Linked DNA regions of Homo sapiens: region 1 is linked to region 2. The links are contacts of gene promoters, found by promoter capture Hi-C in human tissues and cell types (Jung and others, 2019). All regions are on one chromosome and are shown on one strand. Each heading gives the region's core, a stretch centred on a gene start or on the middle of the fragment in contact. The rest is flanking DNA. Distances are from core to core; before and after follow the strand shown. Region 1 overlaps ENTPD3 (ectonucleoside triphosphate diphosphohydrolase 3). Region 2 holds the start of ENTPD3 (ectonucleoside triphosphate diphosphohydrolase 3).

Region 1 (6,985 bases), core at 4,036-6,535, 38 kb before region 2:
CCCATGCTTTTTTTACATAGCTGTGATTAGGAATAGACACTATTTGTGCTACTCATCACTTTTATCTTCACATATTTCAAATCAAAAGACTTGCTTTGGTTGGAGCTTTGGGGTTTGGGGTTCTATAGTTGTATTAGTTTACTGTGACTGTGTAACAAATTGCCACAAATTTAGTGGCTTTAAACGTCATCTTTTTGTTACTTTATAGTTTTGTAGGTCAGAAGTCAGAGTGGGCTCAACTGGGTTCTCCACTTAGGGTCTCAGTAGGCTGAAATCAAGATATGATCTGACCTGGACTCTTATCTGAAAGCTCTGGGGGAAAATATGCTTCCAAGTTCATTCAGGTTGTTGGCAGAATCCAGCTCCTTGCAGCTGTAGGGCTGAGGTTCCTGGTTTTTTGCTGATGCCGCCAGGGATTGCTGTTAGTTTCTAGAGGCTGCACTTAGGGCCTTTGCACACGGCGCCCTCCATCCCCAAGCCGGCAACTGCATGTGGAATTCTTCTCATGCTTTGAATCTCTGACTTCGTCTTCTGGAGAAAATGCTCTGCCTTTAAAGAGCTCATGTGGTGAGGTTAGACCTACCTGGATAAGCTCTCCATTTTAAGGTCAACTGATTTGTAATTACATCTGCAAAATCCTTTTGCCATGTGACAATGTAACCACATAATTGGAGTAACACCAGAGGGGGAAGGAGTATTCTGTTCACCACAGTAACAGTGCTAGATATGCCACTTGAACTGCAGATTTCACAATGGTCTATCTATAAAAATTCTTGTGTGTGTGTGTGTGTGTGTGTGTGTGTGAGAGAGAGAGAGAGAGAGAGAGAGAGAGAGATAGTTTTGCTCTGTTACCCAGGCTGGAGTGCAGCGGCATGATCTCGGCTCACTGCAACCTCCACCTCCCAGGCTCAAGCAATCCTCTTACCTCAACCTCCCAAGTAGCTGGGACTCCAGGTGTGCCCACAACTTCTGGCTAATTTTTGTATTTTTTGGAGAGAAGAGGTTTTGCCACGTTTCCCAGGCTGCTCTCGAACTTCTGGGCTCAAGGAATCCCTCCTGCCTCAGCTACTCCCAAAAGGCTGAGATTACAGGTGTGAGCTACTGCACCCAGTCAAAAATTCTTCGGTGTGTGTCAGAAAACCTGAAGTACCTCAGTTTATTCTAACTTCCCAAATGAGTTAGAAATGTTGACTAGGATTTGCCTTCATGGAGCTTTGGCTCTCTTTCTTGCACATACAAATTTTTTTTCTTGCAAACTCTTGGTGATTTGGATGCTGTTTTTTCCCTGCTATCTCTATAGTTTATTGCCCATTTCTTAGTCACTCATGGAAACAACCTCAATCAACAAATATGAATAAATACTATGTTCATAGCATATGTCCAAATCCAAAATCACACGTAAAAGGTATCAGCCATAATAGGTGTTTTTAGATGTCTGTTGAATAAATGAGGAGTGATGTACAATAGGCTTTGCCCTTAAGTAGCCTACTCTGTCTTTTAGAAATAAGCTGTACACATATGCCAAGATAAATAACAATATGAGGACTTACGTGGCTGGTTTTGAAAAAGTGGTCCAGGAGATAGAGCATAGTATGTGTGTGCAAGGAAAGCTTTGTGGAAGACTTATATGAAGGAACTGGACCTTGAGAAACATACATGATTTGGATGGGTGGGAGGAGGATCTATAATATAGTAGAGAGGATGGCGGGAGCAAAGGTACAGTTTGGGATAGGAGTAGCCGTTCTGGATGAGAACCAAGATTTGAGTGTCAGGTTGTGGACTCACAGAGGCTTAGAATTTCAAATAAGGTACAGAAATGCTTGACTCAATAATCTCAAGCAGTCAAAGGTTTATCAAAGTAAAAGCACTTTGAACTCTCTGGAATAAAGGTGATATTAATGAATGGGTTTCTTAATTTGCTAGGGAAAAAAATTTCTCTCATAAATATCACCTAGGGTCCTTAGGAGAAAGAGTACCATATGGAAGTTAACACACACACACCCCTTGCAAGTCAAAATAAAATAATAGTTCTTTATTCCATATTCAGCTAAGAAACAGCAATATGAAATAATGCTGATTTTTAGTTTGTAGCCATTGGATTTGCTGGAGTTCTTTCTCATTCGACTTTGGAGATAAATATTCCTGCAGCTTCCTTTTCTTTCCCCAAAGTCAAGACCTATGACTACTATGCAGAGAGGTCTATGATCTGGGAAAGTAATTGGTTAGTAAATCATAGAGTAGGATGTTCGTTCTATGACAACATCAAGTATACTTGTGGGAATGGTGACAAAAATATATACACCATGATAACAATGGAAAGTCAGCCCTTTGCTAAGCAAAAGCCTAGCAAAGGCAGTAAAATCTGGAATGCAATAATCTTGCTAGGGATCAATGTGTTTTTATGGGAGGGCATAGCAATACAATGGTGAGATGAGGATGATGACAAACACACAGGTTGCAATCTAGTGACCAGAGCCCTAAGTGGGAATTCCACTTGGAGAATGGTCTATAGTTTTCTGGGAGACCTTTTTTATGTCTCTGTGCTTCGGGATCTACCTGTATGACAGAAGCCTGGCTGTGGCTGCTGCCCTGAAGGAAGTAAGTCTTCTCCCCCAGATACTATATTCTACTGATCTGAGGGGGTTCACTGCTTACGAGATTGCTACAAGAAAGTCTTAGTTAAAGACCAATGGGAAAAACTATAAAATGAGATTCTGATTGGCGAAATGCTTAATGGGTATCTTGCCAGGAAGAATACTGAGGGAGGGAAATGGAAACTGAGCCCTGAGGTCAATTCTTCAACATTAAACTGATACCTTCTCAACTTACTCTTCCTCTGGGGAACTTAATATAAAGAGCCTGACCTTCGTGGCCTGTCTCTTCTCTGTTCCCCAATAGATCAGCATGTGGGTAGTGAGGTCTCTGAAGAACAATATGCACAGAATAGCCAAGGGATGCCTCAAGAGGTGCTGTGGCAGAAATCAGTATTTGAGAGGCACGTGACCTAGGTGTTTGATTTTAGTTAGTTGTATTTCCTGAAGGCAGCCACTTCACCTGCATTGCCTGGTGCCACCCAGGCTGACTCTAAGCAGCCATTGGACTCCAGGAGCTGCTTTGAAGGCTCAGTCAGAATCCACTGCATGGTCAAAGGCATGCTCGGAGTGCCTCTTTCTTCTGGTTGCTGAACACAGGTATGCAAGAAATGCCAGACACAGCAAGGCTGCCGCTGTGAAGAAAGCGAGGGTGCCCACAAAGACAGGTGGTTCTATGGGCAGACGGATCAGAGGGCTTTCAGCTGGGATCTGGTTGGTCAGGCTGAGCATGTAGCCAAGAGACCAGGCTATGCTGCTATTCCCCACCTGTGGAGTAGAGGAGATGGCTCAGCGCTCAGGGCAAGGCTCAAGGCTGCAATCACATACCGGAGTCATACTGCTATCAACCTCACAAAGCTCCCATGGGAAATTGTGGCCCAAAGAGGTCAAAGGACTTGCCCAAGTTAAGACACCACACTGTAGCCACAAAGGCTTGGGGAAATCTCACCTCCAGCGCTGCAGAAGAAATAGTCAAAAGAACAAATTCTCACAATCTTGTCACAGCCAAGAGTGAAGACGGCACAGTTAATAACAGTGAAAGTGTTCCTGTTGTCCAGGAGCACAGGAGTGTTTGTGGCTAGAGAAAGAGGCTAATGAGTGGTTTACTGATCCCAGGACCAGTTCCTAAGAATAGAAAATCAGCCCAAATGGGAAGCTGACTGTCAATTTATTCTGGTAGTTCTATCTATTTTTGCTTTACATGTTTTTAGGGTGTTTTATTAGGTGTATAAATGTTTCACCTTTGCAATCTTCATAGTGAATTGAACATTTTATCATTATGTTGTAACCCTCTGTGTCTAGAATGAGGCTCTTGGTCTTAAAGACTGCTTTGCCAGATACTAAATAGTTATACCAGCTTTCTTTTGGGTAGTGTTTGATAATTTAACAAAATTATCTTTCTATCTTTCCATGTCTTTATGCTTGAACCATGTTTCTCTTATAAATGGCACCTGCTTGATTTCTAAAAATTCAATTTGACATCTCTCTTTTAACTGGTAGGTTTAGTCCATTTATAATTATTGTGATTATTAATATATTTACACTTCTTTCTAATATCTTACTTTTAAATTTTCAATTAGTGCTATTTTTCTATATATATTTTTTCTTCTTTCCTGCCTTAAAAATGATATCTGTGGCCAGTCATGGTGGCTCACGCCTATAATCCCAGCACTTTGGGAGGCCGAGGCGGGATCACCTGAGGTCAGGAGTTCAAGACCAGCCTGGCCAACATGGTGAAACCCTGTCTCTACAAAAATACAAAAATTAGCCAGGCATGATGGTGGGTGCCTGTAATCCCAGCTACTCAGGAGGCTGAGGCAGGAGAATTGTTTGAGCCCAGGAGGCGGAGGCTGCAGTGAGCCAAGATCACACCATTGCACTCCAGCCTAGGCGACAGAGCGAGACTCCGTCTCAAAAAAAAAAAAAAAAAAAGAAAAGAAAAAGAAAAAGATATCTCTGTGTTTCCTTTGACAAGAAGAGAATTTTAGGTTACTCTTATGTCCCTGTATCTTATAACTCCTTACCACACCCTTATCATGTGGATATTTTCTATACTTGAGTCATATGAATGGAGTTTTTTTTAAATACTTTTCTTTAGTGTTCGTTTTCTGTTTTTTTTAATATAATTTTTTTTTTTTTTTTGAGACAGAGTCTTGCTCTTTCGCCCAGGCTAAAGTGAAATGGTGAGATCTCGGCTCACTGCAACCTCCACCTCCCAGTTTCAAGCAATTCTCCTGCCTCAGCCTCCTGAGTGGCTGGGAGTACAGGCACATGCCACCATACCCAGCTAATTTTTTGTATGTTTAGTAGAGACATGGTTTTGCCATGTTGGCCAGGCTGGTCTCGAACTCCTGACCTCAAATGATTCACCTGCCTCGGCCTCCCAAAGTGCTGGAATTACAGGCATGAGCCACAGCACCCGGCTTTTTTAATGTAAATTTTAAGCCACAACATCATTTATTCTTACTTCCAGTGTTTTTGTAACATCTCCTGGATTTATTTCTCTTCTTATTTTATTACTTCCACCAAAAATATTTTCATTGTAAGTCTTCTGTGCAGCAAATCTTCTCAAGTCTTTTTACACCTTCACATTTTTATTTATTTATTTTTATTTTTATTTTTTGAGATGGAGTTTTGCTGTTGTTGCCCAGGCTGGAGTGCAATGGCGTGATCTCGGCTCACGGCAACCTTCACCTCCCAGGTGCAAGTGATTCTCCTGCCTCAGCCTCTGAGTAGCTGGGATTACAGGCATGCACCAACATGCCCAGCTAATTTCGTATTTTTAGTAGAGACAGGGTTTCTCCATGTTGGTCAGGCTGGTCTCAAACTCCTGACCTCAGGTGATCCGCCTGCCTCGGCCTCCCAAAGCGCTGGGATTACAGGTGTGAGCCACCGTGCCCAGCCTACATCTTCACATTTAAATACTAATTTGGCTGGACACAAAATTCTTTATAATTAAAAAAAGGGAACTTTTAACTTAGAATATTATGTCAACTCAAACTGGCATTCAAATGGAAAGTCATTCTCCATTCTTATAATATACTTTACTGGTAATTAGATTTATTAGAAGCAAAGCTTAGAGAGTACATGCTACCAACAGTCCTTATGTCTCCAGACATCCTTATTTTTTTGTAGATGACTCAATTTTATTTATGTAAAAGTAGATAGTCAGAGGCCTAATGCAGGATATTGATTGGTTTAATCTAATTATTGCTGAAGCTGGTATTGAACAGGCTGACTCCAGACATCCTTCAGGCTTCATATCAGCTATTCCTGAAATGAGAAAATTCTCTGGAACCTGGGGAACATAGTGCTGGCTGAACATATTCACAAGGCTTAGCCCTGCCTAAAAACAAGGTATGGAGGTCCTTTCACCTGTCACCAGGTGACAGCTGTGATTCCAGCTTTGGACCATTCTGGTCACTTGACCATCATATATATATATGTATGTATTTATAGATATCTATAAATATACATATTTTTAAATATATTAAACCCTGAGCTAAGAATATCTTCCCCATCCCCCAAATCTTTGTCAGTAAATATAATGACTTCAGGTTCATTCAAAGAGAAAATATTTATTTAATGCTAATGCAAATCCATCAGGCCCTAAGGCCTGTATCTTACTCTGATATCTGAATAAAATGGAGAAGAATTAGTTACTATCCTCTTTAAAAAACTGTTACATTTAAAGCTTCTTTTCAGGATGAAAAGTCTCATATCCTTAACATATTTATTTATGAATTCAACCAACATTTACTAAGTACCTTCTAGGCTCTATTCCTTGTGCAGAGTGCTGGGAATATGAAGATACCAAGACAGGTCTCTGCCCTCCAGGACCGCCTAGTCCATTGGCCCTTGGCTTCCAGTCTTTTCCAGGAGAATGTATACCCATGAGCAACTCTTCTAAATTCTCCATGACCTCTTCTGGGAAACTCACAAGGGATCAGTCTGATCAGCTTCCACCCAGTGAGTTTAACTCATTAATACCCTTTTACCTTCTACATTTGTTCCACACACACATACAAACCTCTCTGTTGGGAAGAAGAAGAGAAAATGATTTGTGCTTAACTTACTTCTTTTTCAAAGTGTATTTGGGGCCAAGTCTCCTCTGTGAATTTGTAACCGTTCACAAACAAGTGGTAGATGTAGTTGGCTGAGAAGCAGTAAGAGCGGGCATATACCTCATCAAATTTGGGGAGCAGCAGTGGGAGCTGAAAGGTTTAAAACATCTGAGAGGCAGGGCAGGCAGGTATGTTTTAAAATGAACACCTTGGGTTAAAAGTCATGTTTTAAAGAATCTTATCACCCATAATTTCATAATAGAAAATACTTTATAATACAATCATATAATCACACAATATAATTATGAAAATATCCCTATATAATATCAC
Region 2 (6,588 bases), core at 550-3,049:
GCATGACTAAAGAATGTCTATCCATGGGGGAGGAGTGTGTGATATGTATGCAGTTTCCTGACCACAGCTACGTGGCTGGCCTCCTAAGTCTTCTGTGTTTCAGCAGTTTTCAAGTAAAAAGCTATGATTACCTTAAGCAAACTCTTGTCCTTGCAGAAAAGCTTATTACAAAGCAAAATGGATGAGACCAGGTCTTACTCATTTAGGAAATGCAGCCTAGAGCTGTGCTGTCATTAGGGCTGGACAAACATGGTAATTGCAAGGTACCTACCTGAGCTTGGAGAAGCCAGAGCCTTCTGGGCTTCCACATGAGCAACTCCAAAAAGTGCTCTAGAGGCAGGCGGGGCAAGCTTAGAAGTGTGTGTGTGTGTGTGTGTGTGTGTGTGTGTGTGTGTGTCTGTGTGTGTGTGCCTTCCAGTGTGAGAAAATCCTGCACTTGTGCCTGCAGTATCAACCATAACAACACTGACTCACAGTGAGGGGTGGGGGTGTTGTAGGCACTGTGCCAGCAACATTTGGATGGGAATACAGGAAAGATCCAAGTACTGTACAATTGATCACAAAATCAACAATACAGTATTCTAAAGCAAACGTTACACACAGCTAGCTAAGGGAAACCACAAGGGCCAAATTAATGGATTATACAAACCGGAAAAACCATTTAAGTGAAACATGCATGTTAGTCCTTGTTTTGTGTGGCTTTGATGAAAAGCATTACTTTTATTTGAGGAATGCCGGTGTTGAAACCCAGCTGAGTACTGAGTCTCAAACCAATAAAGTTAAACAATCATTTGCAGGGGATATGGATGAAAAACTGTAGGCCGAAGCTGGGGTTCTCTTGCGATTTGGCAAAACCACGCTTGCTACCTGCTGAGAGATACTAACCTGCTTGCTCACATGGTTGGCGGGTCAGCACAGTGAACATCTTTTCTCCTAGCTGCAGGTGAGAGAATACAGGATGTCAGTAAGTCCACCGCCCCGGCCTCACAAGTTTAAAGAACGAGCCCAGGTTAAGACAAAACCCATTTTACTTCCTCCAAATCAAAACCTCATCCCGGGAAAGGTAAGCCGAACCCCAGAACTTCAGAGACAGCCCCAAAGCTGGAGCTTAAATTTCATGTCATCTCCCCAAATGAAAGGAAATGAAAAATGGATTTGCTGAAACTTCAAACTGAAAAGGTTTTCCGAAAAAAGGTCTTTTTCTGCAGATTGTTCCACCTGTACACACACCCAAGAGAGAACAAATCTTCCCCCTATTATTAACATTCACAAAGCTGAGGCGGGGCTTTTTTTCAGAACATGAGCAAGGAAGGTTTTTGTGTGTTCATGGATCGCGAGCCTGGAGCCTCTCTAAAGCCCCGGGAAGGGAGTCTTTAGCTGCTGGCTGGAAATTGCAAAGGGATGTCGGGGCCCTGGGATCCAGCCCCCACCAGGATCTGGGGTCACCTCTCTGGACTGCGTCTCTGCATAGCCGCAGGCATCTAAGCGCCCAGCACATCTGCGGATCCATGCAGGCTGTCGGTAAAGACGCGCCCACCCGTCGTGGGCATGACAGGGACCACCTCCCAGCCGCCCAAGGATTTGGGGCTACCGTGTTTCAGTCTCTTCCTCTGGCCCTCTGAGGAAATCCGATTTTGTTTCTTTGCCTCCCAACTCTCAGTCTCACGCAGCACCCCCGACTCCTTCCTCGGCAGCTCAGGCGCCGGGTCCCCTGATCTTACCTGTGCGGAGCCGATTCGGAGAAGGCGACTAGCGCTGCCGCAGAGGCGGCCCGCGGCCAGCGCTAAGGAGGTGTCAGCTCAGACGCCGGGAGGCGGCGCCGGGTATAGCGGGGCGGGGGCGGGGCGGCCTCGGCCTGGGACCGCCCCCCCCGTCCGTGTCAAGGCCAAGTACCTCTTCACCTTCTTTTCTGATTGCTCTCACCTTCACACCCAGCCCTCGATGGAAGGGGAAGGGAGAGAGAGCGCGCCTCTTGCCAAAAGACCGGCCCTGCCTGCCCAGAGAGCCTTCTGTCCCCCTCCAGGTCGAAGCCAAACAGCACTTCACCTTTCCTCTTTCAGTTCCCTCCACACTCACCTGTACCTGAAGTCGGAGAGGAGGGAGCCAGGCCTTGCCCTGAGAACCCACCGGAGCCTATGTGGGCGAGGGGGAAGGGAGGTGTCTATTATCTGCCTCCTTCTTGCATCTGTGTCAAGACCAAGAACCTTTTGATCTGTCTTCTAGTTACCTCCATTGTCACCCCAACCCTAGGTGGAGGGAAAATGGGGACAAGGCCAGGCAGGGACTGGGCACTCTGTGGGTGTGCATGACCTTATGTGGTCCCCCGGTGGGTGGCTCCTGTGCTCCGTCTCTCCACGGGGTGGAGTAGAGTCAAACACCTGTAATGTTGGGAGTGAGGCCAGTAGGCAGGCTGGCCCCTAGGTCACTTGGGCCTAAAGCACAAAGTATGGCAGGCACATTCCCTTTCACACTTAGCAGAACTGCCTTGGCCATGCCCAGGGCCATTCTTGCTGTTTACTGAGCAATGCTCTGCCCTACCCCATTTAATATGGATGTCATAAGGCCAAAAACTCAAGACAAGTACAGCCCGGAAGAGGCAAAACAGAAAAGATAACAAAAAGGCAGCATGTGGGCTGCCGTGATCCAAACACCCCAGGAGTCTGTCTCAGTGTACAGCAGCAGGCAGCCTCCCGGCTCCTCTGAGTGACCCCAGAGACCCTTGGAGTGATCCCAGCAAGAGGCCTAAGCAGGCCCTGTTTGACCATCCCTCCTTATGGTTCCTGCATGTCTGGAAGGAAGAGCTGAGTCCCTGGCTATACCCTGCCATAGCCTGCTTTCTCCTAGAAATCCACTAATTTTCTGTCCTGTGCAGGTGGGGCCAAAGCCCCTAAGACAAGAAGTCCTTAAGATAGGAATGCCCCTGCTTTGATACCTCTGAGCCCAGAGAGGTGGGCCCCAAGCCTGAGTTATGTGTGTGTGCCTGTGTGTGTGTGTGTGTGTGTGTGTGTGTGTGTGTGTGTGTGCCCGCGCGCAAGAGCACCATGGTCATTCACCCAGAGTTGGATAGAGGTGGACCCCATTGGGGGATTGGGACAGGGTCTGCACTGGGGGTGTCAGACATTCAGTGAATACTTGCTGAATTAAAAGACTTGTTTTCTTTGAAAGCTGTGGGACAATGAAACATAAGGCATATGGCTGGCAGCTGGGGGTCCGTCTGCACCCAGGGGGCTGTAAGTACACAAACAGCTGCTGGCAGTGCACCCGGACCTGAGCTCAGTTAGATAGCCCCAGTGGGTGAATGACTAACCTTAGCATCCCCAGTGACTTCCCAGGGGCTGGGAAAAGGTTTCCAGGCCTAATGGGCCTTGAAAGGCAGTTAGTGCTAGTGTATAAAAATAACAGAGATCAGTCCATGCCAGCTTTCCTCTCTGCTTGCATCAACCTACAGACCTTGTAAGTGTGAGCATCAGCCTCCTTTGAGAGCCCTGTAGTCTCCAATTCTCCTTTTATTTTTCCAAGCTTTTCTGGAAACTCTGCTCCAGGCACTGTGTCAAACTCCTTTGCAGCTTCCAAAGTAGACCTAGTCATTCAAAGGCATTTCCTCATCCACCTTCCACATGCAAGAACACACACACACACAGACACACACACACACTCCTTTGTGAGTTTTCCTGATTATAAAATAATACAGATTTGCCCACCAGCTATCAAAACATATTGTAAAGCCACAGTAATAAAAACAGCCTGGCTTGGGCACAGGAATATACTGAGAGATCTAAAGAACAAAAAAGATAGGCCACAACAGACTATTGGATATAGGATTATAAGATAAAGAACAGGTTGAAATAACATATTATTCAATAACTGGTATTGAAACAACTGGCTCATTTGGAAAAGGATTCTAATTACTCATCACCCACAAAAATAGATTTTAGGTGGTTTAAAAATTTAAATGTATAAAATAATTTGACATACTAAAAAATGTAGAAGAACATTTTTATCATCCTTGGGAAAGAACAGTCTCTTCTACTATGCAGTCAAAGCAGGAAGAGAAATAAAGTCAACAAATTTGAATCCATGAAAATGAAAAATGACTGAATAGAAAGACACCACCCACTGCAACCCCCCCCCACCAAAAAAAAGATAAATTCTCAGGAAATACCTAAGAATGTGACAGTAAAGAGTTTAAAACCGTAAGATATACTAAAGTCTATAGAAAAATATGAATATCTGAAATAGAAAATGGGCAAGTCACATGCATTGGCCAATTTACAAAAGAAATATGAATGGCTGACTAACATGGCAGAGATGCTTAATCTCATTATTTACCAAAAATTGTCAACTAAAACTTTGGTATATTTAAACAAGATTAAAAAAAAACTGATTAGACTTGATTAGCTTAGCAAAGTTTAAAAAGATCTAGGCCAGGCACAGGGGCTCACGCATGTAATCCTAGCACTCTGGGAGGCCGAGGTCAGCTGATCACCTGAGGTCATGAGTTCAAGGCCAGCCTGGCCAAAATGGTGAAACCCCGTCTCTACCAAAAAATACAAAAATTAGCCAGGTGTGGTGGTGCATGCCTGTCCCAGCTACTCAGGAGGCTGAGGCACGAGAATTACTTGAATCTGGGAGGTGGAGGCTGCAGTGAGCTGAGATGCTGAGATCATGCCACTGCACTCTAGCCTGGACTATAGAGCAAGACCCTGTCTCAAAAAAAAATAGCAATAATAATCAGTGGTGCTTGTGTTGGAGAAGGTGCCAGGAAACAGGCCCTCTTGAAGCATCTGATGCGTGCCATGTCCTCCCACTTCTCTAGACAATTTTGCTGGTTCCTGCTCCTTTCCTGGGAGTTTCTCAAGACTCAGTCTCCAGGATTATTTTCTTCTCATTCTGTATTCTTTTCCTAGGTAATCTCATCCATGCCTACGTCTTCTGTTTTATTCACAGAAGCTCTCAAATACAGGGTTCAGGCTTCCCCTCTTGATCTGTAGACCTAGAGAATTGTGTTTTTCATCTTTCAAGTGTCATATAGGCACCTCACATTTACAGGGTTTCAAGCAGAGCTCCTTATCTTCCCCTACCAAACCATCAACTCCTCAAGCATTTCTCATCTCGGCACTCCCCACTCATCCAGGTGAGCAAGCCAGAAACCTGAGGGTTGCCTTTGATAGTCTTTCCCCCATTATACACGATCAATCAGTCACTAATTACTGCTGATTTTAGCCTCTTAATCGTCTCTGCAATATGTACTTCCTTCTCTCTCAGCCACCATCTTGGTCTGAGCCAGGATTTCTCAGTTGGAGCACTATTGATATTTCAGGTCAGATGATTGTTGAGGGAACTGCCCTGTATATTGTAGGATGTTTAGTAGCATCCTTGACCTTTCCCTACTAGTTGCCAGTAACATCCTCCCACACATGGTGTGACAACCAAGAATGTCTCAAGACATTGCCAAGTGTCCTCAGAGGAGTAAAATTTCCCTGGTGAGAACCACTGGTCTAAGCTACCATGCACACTTTTCTGGATCTTGGCAACGGTCTCACACATCTCTCTGTGTCCATTTTCTTCCTCTCTGATCCATTTTCCCAAGCCAACAGGCCCCATCTCTTCAAAACCCAGATCTCTCTGTGTCAAAACTCTCTGTAAAACACTCTTCTATGCTGTCCATTTCTTAGTGGATTCACAATCAGATTCTCAATGTGACCTGGAAGGCCCTGCAAGGTATATTCTCTATCTCTCTTTCCAGTCTCTATTAACCCATACTACTTCTTACTTCATGCTCTGAAGACAAACCAGCCTTCTTTCAGTTTTTCAAATATATCATGTTTACTCCTGCCATAGGACCTTTGTACATTATTTTACTAATTAGCACTTGTTTATACTTTTTTTCTCACTTCAGTCATTTCACTGATACTTCCCCGGCATCCCCTAATCTGGATCATACATCCAAACTGGGTCAAGTCCCTAAATTATGTGCTTTTAAAGCAGGCATTCCTTTCTTTCAGCTAGAGTTTCATTACAGTCGTTGTTGAGCAAATGACCCCTGTTGCTTATCACCAAAGCAGCAGTCCCAGGATGTTAACTTACTGTATGGTTTGGAGATGTCCATGTCACCAAGAAAGATGATTCACACAGGCACTGGATGGAAAACACTTTACTCATATAGAGAAGAGATGGAACAGGATTAGCTTCAGTGATGACTGTGTGCCCCCATGGCAGTGGGTCTTGACCTCTAGCTGATGCAGGGAGATGGAATGCATACACTGCTCTGTTGCTGCAGGTGAAGATCCTCAACCCATCCCCCTGGGGCCAGAACTATAGAAAGCTGGAGGTGCACTTGATGGCCATTGACCCATGCGCTTAAGAACAAAGAAGTACACGTGAAACCCGGAACGGGGAAAGTTATTACAAAGCAGAGATGTGCCTAGCACAGGCTATGATGACTCTTTATCTCTGTGCAAGAAAATGTTCCAGGCCCAAGGCTGCTCTTATGTAACGATGCAGGGGGTGAGAAGCTGTGCACAACTGCCTTTCATAACAGGAATTCTCTCGTTAGTCTTTCTCTGTCCACTAGACAGTAAACCACGT

What was found. The method cuts DNA at HindIII sites, captures the fragments that hold promoters and counts their contacts. A contact is called where the count stands out against the background at its distance.
Region 1: a contact is called between a fragment that was not itself captured here and the fragment with the promoter of ENTPD3 in region 2, in 1 of the 25 tissues and cell types used here (stomach).

The regions. Positions count from the first base shown.
Region 1 is chr3:40,423,646-40,430,630 of GRCh38, reverse strand. It overlaps ENTPD3 (ectonucleoside triphosphate diphosphohydrolase 3), which reads right to left. Exons shown (of 11, transcript NM_001248.4): 10 at 6,668-6,805; 11 at 1,887-3,359. The coding sequence ends at 3,123. All of the region lies in intron 2 of ENTPD3-AS1 (ENTPD3, EIF1B and MYRIP antisense RNA 1), which reads left to right. Among named protein-coding and RNA genes, the nearest start is that of ENTPD3-AS1, 26 kb to the left of the region's middle. The HindIII fragment of the contact is 3,293 bases long and covers 3,639-6,931 here.
Region 2 is chr3:40,382,395-40,388,982 of GRCh38, reverse strand. It overlaps ENTPD3 (ectonucleoside triphosphate diphosphohydrolase 3), which reads right to left and starts at 1,799. Exons shown (of 11, transcript NM_001248.4): 1 at 1,722-1,799; 2 at 886-937. The coding sequence starts at 925. RefSeq lists a silencer at 1,779-1,878. The HindIII fragment of the contact is 11,676 bases long and covers 1-6,588 here.